Linked DNA regions of Homo sapiens: region 1 is linked to region 2. Evidence: promoter capture Hi-C in 16 types of primary human blood cells and fetal thymus (Javierre and others, 2016). All regions are on one chromosome and are shown on one strand. The core of a region is centred on a gene start or on the middle of the fragment in contact, and the rest is flanking DNA. Distances in the headings are between cores, read along the strand shown. Region 1 overlaps PTK2 (protein tyrosine kinase 2). Region 2 holds the start of GPR20 (G protein-coupled receptor 20).

What was found. Contacts are between HindIII fragments. The CHiCAGO score rates a contact against its expected background, and 5 or more counts as called.
Region 1: a fragment that was not itself captured here is called in contact with the fragment with the promoter of GPR20 in region 2 in 1 of 17 cell types (monocytes); the score reaches 6.4 in monocytes.

What each region holds. Positions count from the first base shown.
Region 1 is chr8:140,833,191-140,836,846 of GRCh38, reverse strand. The region is part of intron 7 of PTK2 (protein tyrosine kinase 2); the gene reads left to right. Among named protein-coding and RNA genes, the nearest start is that of MIR151A, 100 kb to the right of the region's middle. The HindIII fragment of the contact is 1,425 bases long and covers 1,605-3,029 here.
Region 2 is chr8:141,365,379-141,368,809 of GRCh38, reverse strand. It overlaps GPR20 (G protein-coupled receptor 20), which reads left to right and starts at 1,524. Exons shown (of 2, transcript NM_005293.3): 1 at 1,524-1,609. RefSeq lists an enhancer at 212-761. The HindIII fragment of the contact is 50,298 bases long and covers 1-3,431 here.

The DNA.
Region 1 (3,656 bases), core at 1,068-3,567, 530 kb after region 2:
TTTGCATTTAGTATATTTTGCTATAGTGGTTTGTATAGTTGTTTCTCTTCACTATGGAGAATGTGAGCTGCATTCTGTTGTGCGGGGAATGTATTCCCCACACATTATATAGTATCTGATATCTGTAAGATATTCCATAGGTATTTCTAGAATGGATAAATTTGTGGTTTAAAATTAGCTGAGCTTAGTTATCGCTGTACTTGTTTTCATTTTTCTTGTCAACAGTAGTCAATTGCATCCTTTAGCTACTTATAATAAATATCAAAGAAGGAGGTGCTGGTAGATTTGGCAGGAATTGATGGTTGCCTCACTGAGACAGAAGTTTATTTCTCTTATATAAAAGAAGTGATAGACAATCAGTGTTTCTCAGTCATTGGGGCTACAGGTTACTTTAATTTTACCATTTTGTAATCCATAGCCACCTCATAGCCTAAGAGGCTGCTGAACATCACTCATCACCACGTATGTATTCTAGTCCCCAGGAAGGAGGAAGAGATGGGCATTCTCTTTTTCTTTTCAAGGACACAAACGTGTATACAGTAAGTCTTCACTTAACATCAATAGGTTCCTGGAAACTATAAGTGAAACGACATAAAGTGAAACCAGTTTTACCGTGGGCTAATTGATATAAACAAGAGTTAAGTTCTTGTGGAATGTTTCTCGTCACAAAAACATCCCCAGCTTCTAAGTAGAGACCCAAAACACTTCTAATATTAAACATTGGAATAAATGTAAGCATACATTTTAAAAAGTCTGATTAAAAAAAAAACCAGATAATTATTTACCCAGTTATTCCAGTTCAGGGTCGTGGGTGGCTGGACCCTATCCCAGCAGCTCAGGATGCAGGTCAGGAGCCAGCCTTGGACAGGATGCCATTCTCGTCACAGGGAGTACTCACTCCCCCAACCCCATACTCACTCATCCTGGGACAATTCAGACACACCAGTTCCCCTAACATGCACATCTTTGGGATGTGGGAGGAAAGTGGAGTAACCATAGAAACCCCACACAGACACAGGGAGAACATGCACACTCCATATAGTGGCCCAGCTGGGAATCAATTTTTTTTCTCATCAACACTATAATGAAACAACATTACATAATAATGACATTATTTATGAACCTGCTGTTTAATACTTTCCCTTAGAGGGACATAGGAGAAAACATAGTCGCATAGCCATACCTGCTACAGAAGAGACTGGGGAAGGCAGCACTTTACCTGGCCAAAAGACAACTTCATCCCCAGGATGAAGGGGAGAATGTCATTAAGAAACAGCAATCTCTGTTGCAGTTAGATAATTTTAACATTTGTCTGTTAAGAAGCTTGAGTATAATTTAGAGGTGAAAGTACCACCATACTATTTCTAAATTAAATATACTCAATTCTGACAGTTTTGGAGAAAGAGTAAGAGTTACTACATGGAAATGCCTATTTAAGTTATATTTGAAGTTAGTTTTGGCTGCATTTTTGCCTGGGTTTTAAGTATTTGAGGGATTATGTTCACAAAATATTAAACAGGGTCAACAGACAAGAATCTTCTCAGAAATATTGCCAGAAGAGAAATAAATTTATCCTTGACTTAAAAATGTGCTTATAATAAGCTTAGTTTCTTTTTAATATGTAAAGAAAGTTGATTCCCATCTGAGGCTTCTAAAAGCCAGCTGTGTTATGAATTTGTGGATATGAATACACGTGCAGGATAAGGCCACAGGCTGGGACTAGATGGGCACCTAGAGGATTCATCTCAGTGAGTGGGGAATGCTGATGGCAGTCAGCTGGTGCAGGTGGGGAGAGGCCCTCCTACACAGCCTCTTTTCCTGCAGCATTCTGGATGGCCACTGTGGTGTGAAAGGAGGAATATGAGGAGGTGCATAGTCATCATGCAGGAATGTGGGAGGGCAGAGCTCTCTAAGGATTTTCCAAAAATGCTAAATGGCAACAGGAATCAGTGGAGTGTTAAATGGGATTCTGAGGTTTAGCAAAAGAGAAAGAAGACCATATCAGTCAGCAGTGTTCTAAATCTTTCACTTAAAGGATAGAGGTCAGTTAAACATTAAGAGAGTTCTGTTTAAAATTGGCCAGAAAAACCTTAAATCTCGATGGCTAAGTGTATTGGTTTTAAACTCTTATCTTATAGTACCTTTCACACTGTGTTGTAGTTAGTTGTTTATGTAATTATCTCACTTAAGAAAAGGAAACATATTAGCGATTTTTCTATCCCATGATCTGTTATAGTGCCTAGTATGTCATATGGTCTCAGTGAGGGAGTAAATGAATACAGCCTCTCTTTTCTTTGTAGCTTCAAATCTAAATGATTTGAATCTTAGTGAATAGATCATAGAAACCGTTTTTGTTAGTCCTGAGAGAGAAGTAGGAAAGGTAATACTTAGAAGCCCTCTGCTATGTATATACAAGCAGTCCCAACGAAAGGCTTCTTAACATACAGCTGTCTCCTGTGAGATCTGCTGCCTTCTGCATTGTCATGGTAGAGCTCTCTCCTCATGCCTCTATACCTTCTTTCCCCAGTCTTTCTGAGCAAGGCAAGAACCTTGAGTGGTTGTCCCTGTGGTAACTCTGCACCTATTCCCAGTGCTCATGCATTTCACCCATCCCTGTGCTTACTGAGGAGCCTTTGGGCCCACAGCACCAAGCCCTAGAGAATGAGGGTGGCTGAAGTCCTAGATTCATTGCTCTGGCCCAGCCCCACCCATTGCAGCTTTCTGCGACAATGGAACTGTTCTGTGACTGCCCCACCTAGTTTGGTAGCCTCTAGCCACATGGGACTGCTCATCACTTGAAATGTGATGAGCATTGCAGTTGGGAACAGAATTTTTAATTTAATTCAACTAATGTAAGTATAAATAGCTACATATCACTAGCGGTTGTATATTGGACAACACAGTTCTAACCTAATATTAGTGTCTTGTCATCTGTGTATGGGTTCAAGAGGTTTCTCTGAACTGATGTGGGAATCTAATAAACTGATGCTTGGGTTTGGGAATTGGGGTTTGGCAATATTCTAAAAGCTTCATGTGAGTTAGTTTTTTATTACATGAGTTTAAATGCATTTAGGACATATCCTTTGACAGTTAATATAGTAAGGAATTATTGTATGATAAAGGTTAGTAATTATATTTTGTTGATGATGTGTAAGTTGTATTTGTTGTTTTATTCGCATACAGGACAGTTGTGTAGAGTTTGGGCTCAAAGAAGGTTTTTACGCCACTTGAGGCAAAACTACTGCTGATTAGAGTGCACATTGTAAACCAGTCCCAAACACACAGATCATGGAGAGAGGCGACCTCATATTAAAAATGGGACAGCCTACAAGTCCCTGTTTGGTTTCCTAAGGCTTTAAATTTAGATATCTATAATAGGCTTTCCCTAAAAACTTTGAACATAGTACCTTAGGTGGGCTCAGAGTCCTCTATCACAAAACCTGAAGTAGTTTGATTTCGAGATTAAATTAAAATGTGTTAAAGGCAGCGTTGCAGAATTTTTACCATGACCTTGTGTACTTGAGCCTCATTTTTATTTTCTCAACTGCCAGGTATCAAAAAAGTTCTAACATATGGACAAACGTTACAAATTCATTATTAGTCAAAAGAAGTTTAAGAAAACCTAAACTGTATATATGCTAATTATTAGCCTTCAG
Region 2 (3,431 bases), core at 275-2,774:
AGCACTCTGGTACCCATAGAGGCTGCTGAGACTCAGTGTAGAAGTCCCCTGCCCACTCCCAGCTTTGCTCCCCAGGAAATATTCTGATGGCCTCCTGTCCCTCTGCCCATCTGGGCTGCCTGCCTCCTGTTATACCTCCCTCTGCCCCTTCCAGGAAGCCTTCCCAGACGGCATCCCTCCCCAGCAGGCTGGGTCAGGACCCTAGGGCCCACCTACTCTCTCCTGTTGGTCTGCATTACAACCAGCCTGAGCTCGGGAAGGCCCAGCCCCTCCCTTGGGGAGCCTTCCCTGAGTCTCCGGTGTGCAGTACAACCCACTCAGCAGGGCCTCGGCACTCAGGCGGCTGGAAGGTTAAAGTGTGAGTATCAGCAGAAGCACACGGGATGGGAACAAGAGGAGATGGTGCTCTCGGCAGAGGAGACACTAACTAAATGGCCCCAACCGCTCCCCGACAACCCCCGCTGCCACCCCAGGCTGGCCACAAGGCCTCCTGGCTCTGAAGCTGTCTGGGGAGAGTGGCCCTCCAGCAGCCCTCTGGGATCAAGCCTGTTGATGAGCTCACGCTTCCTCCAGCACTGAGGTCCGGGTCCCACACGCTCTCCCCACCTGCTGGCCTGGGTCACGTCCAGGTCTTTCCCACACACCTGACCCCACATGCCACATGCCACCGGTGCATGGGTGCAAACAGAGGCCCAGATGCCAGGTGTGCAGGCTGTCGGTCATGGGTACACACAGACACAGCCAAACCCAGGACACATGCAAAACAGAGAGCCATGCAGGAACCCAGGCTTGCGTGGGCTGAAGCTACCATGCACATGCCCCCTCCCGGGAAGGAAATTGGGCTTTCGTGTGCTCCCACCTCCTGTCCCGCACACAGCACGCACAAGTGCCAGCCACCATCTCCTGGATGGTGCAGCTGAGACTCAGCCCCTCCGTGCCTCAGTTTCCCCCTCCTGCCCCCCACACAGCACACACAAGTGCCAGCCACCGTCTCCTGGATGGTGCAGCTGAGACTCAGCCCCTCTGTGCCTCAGTTTTCCCCTCCTGCCCCGCACACAGCACGCACAAGTGCCAGCCACCATCTCCTGGATGGTGCAGCTGAGACTCAGCCCCTCCGTGCCTCAGTTTCCCCCTCCTGCCCCGCACACAGCACACACAAGTGCCAGCCACTGTCTCCTGGATGGTGCAGCTGAGGCTTAGCCCCTCCGTGCCTCAGTTTCCCACCTCCTGCCCTGCACACGGCACACACAAGTGCCAGCCACCACCTCCTGGATGGTGCAGCTGAGGCTCAGCTCCTCGGTGCCTCAGTTTCCCCCTCTGTCTCCAGTGGGTGTGGGGACTCTGGTGCCCCAGGCCCCTCTGTGCCTCGGTTTCTTCTTCTGTCTCCAGTGGGTGTGGGGACTCTGGTGCCCCAGGCACCGTCCCTCAGGCTCTGAGCCTTGACTCCTCCTGGGGGCGGGGAAGGAGCCTGCCCCGCCCCCACCCTGCCTTTGCCCAAAAGGAGCCCCAAGCGCTGGCCTGACGTCAGGCCGTAGGAAGGCGAGGTCCGGGCTGCATGCAGAGCTGAGAGCTGAGGACTCCCATCTCCAGCCTGCCCGGGTGAAGCGCGGTAAGTTCCCCTGTGGGCTGGCCCCAGCCTCCCTCTCCCCAGCTTCCCTAGATAGGAGGCTCCTGAGCTGCTCCCTGCAGGGGTTCTCACCCCCAGCCAAGCAGGAGTGGGAAGGGCAGGGCAGAGAAACTGCCTCCAGATCCGGGCTGGGGAGAGCTCAGAGCAGGTCCTGCTGGACAGGGAGCCATTTCTCAGATGAGAAAACAGAGACCTGAGGGAGAACATGGGCGTGAGTTGGGCTGGCTGCATAAGGGGGAGCTGCGCTGCTAGGTGCCCACCCAACTCTGGATTTCATTCATTCACTCATTCATCCCTCCGTTCAACACTCACCGAGCATCTGCTGGGTGCCCAGAGCTGGGTCTTGGTTTCCCCACCTGGCAAGGCAGCAGGGTGGCCCACAGGCCAAGCCAGGGACAGAGTTGGGGGACCCCAGAGGCACTTGGCAGGCTCTGGGGCCTCAGCCACCACCACCCCGCAGCTGGGGCAGGGCCATGGTGAGGGCTTTGTGGGCATGGGCTCCAAGCGCCATGCTCCCTCTTCAGAGTGCCCGTCCTGCCATCCCACAGCTCAGGCCCTCTGCAGTAGCCTTGGTGCTGTCTCTACCCCTTAGGGGTGGGGAAACTGAGTCCCAGGGAAGGCTTGCTTGCCAGCCCTCAGTGTGGACCTAGAAGCTGGCTCCAGCCCCGCGAAGCTCGCACTGGGACTGCGCTGTGAGAAGGCGGCAGGACAGGGTCCCGAGGGGGCAGCGGGCTGGGAACTGGCCAGCAGCCAGGGTGCTGGCGGGGCAGACGTGGAGCAGCTGGCGACCTCGCAGGACGGGGAATGCACCCCGCAGGAGGCTGGGCCTGTCCACTTGCCCTGTCTTCTTCCTTCAACAGCTGGTCATCCTGGGTCTTCCCTCCCCTCTCCCCCCAGGACTCATCCAGTCGCTGGGCTCCAGGGCGGTCTGCTGAGTGGCCGTGGCAAGTCGCTGCCCCTCTCTGAGCCACACGGTGTGGGCCCATCAGCAAAGGCGGGGTCTGCGGCTGGAGAGCCGGGCGTGGGGGCCATGCAGTTTGGACCATTTCTGAGCAGCTCCTGGAGCCCACGGGGTGGCTTCATTGTCTTCTTGTTAAGTGGTATTAGCATCTCCTCTTTATAGATGAGGAAACTGAGGCTCAAGGAGATCAGAGGGGTATTCTAAAATCATCCACTCCATCACTCAGCAGTGACTCAGTGACTCAGAGGGGCCAGCCAAGGCCAGGGCCCCTGAGGCACTCCAGTTCAGTGAGGGAAGCACAGCGAACAGGAAAGCAGGGACATAGGGAACTGCGCGTGGCAGGGCACTGCGAAGGAAGCCAGGCGGTGCAGGCGTGCGGGGCTGTGGGCTCTGGAGGGCCTCCCTGAGGAGGGGCGTCAGGGCCCAAAGAACCTTAAGTTGATCCCCTCACCATACGTCCCAAAGCCCTCCCCACGCCCCCGGTGTCTCACAGAGCCCTGAACACAGACTCTCCTTCCCACCTCTGGCCCTTCATGCTCACTGTGCCCTTCCTGCTGCCGGGAGCGCTCTTCCCTCTGATTGTCCTGAGGCCCATCCCGGCCGTGACCAGCCACCTCCCACCCTACCCTGAGCTGTCAGCTCGGAAAGGTGGGGCCAGGTCTGCCTGGGACCCATTTGTGCCCGCAGTGCTGGGGTCTAAGTCCTGGTCTGACACCTCCAAACTGCACGGGGCTGTGTGGCCTGGGGCCTCTGATTCCCTCCACACACAGGGCTGGGTGCCGCAGAAGGCTGATCCCAGGCACTGGGACAAAGTGCCAGCAGGCAGATTGAGGCAGAGCTCAG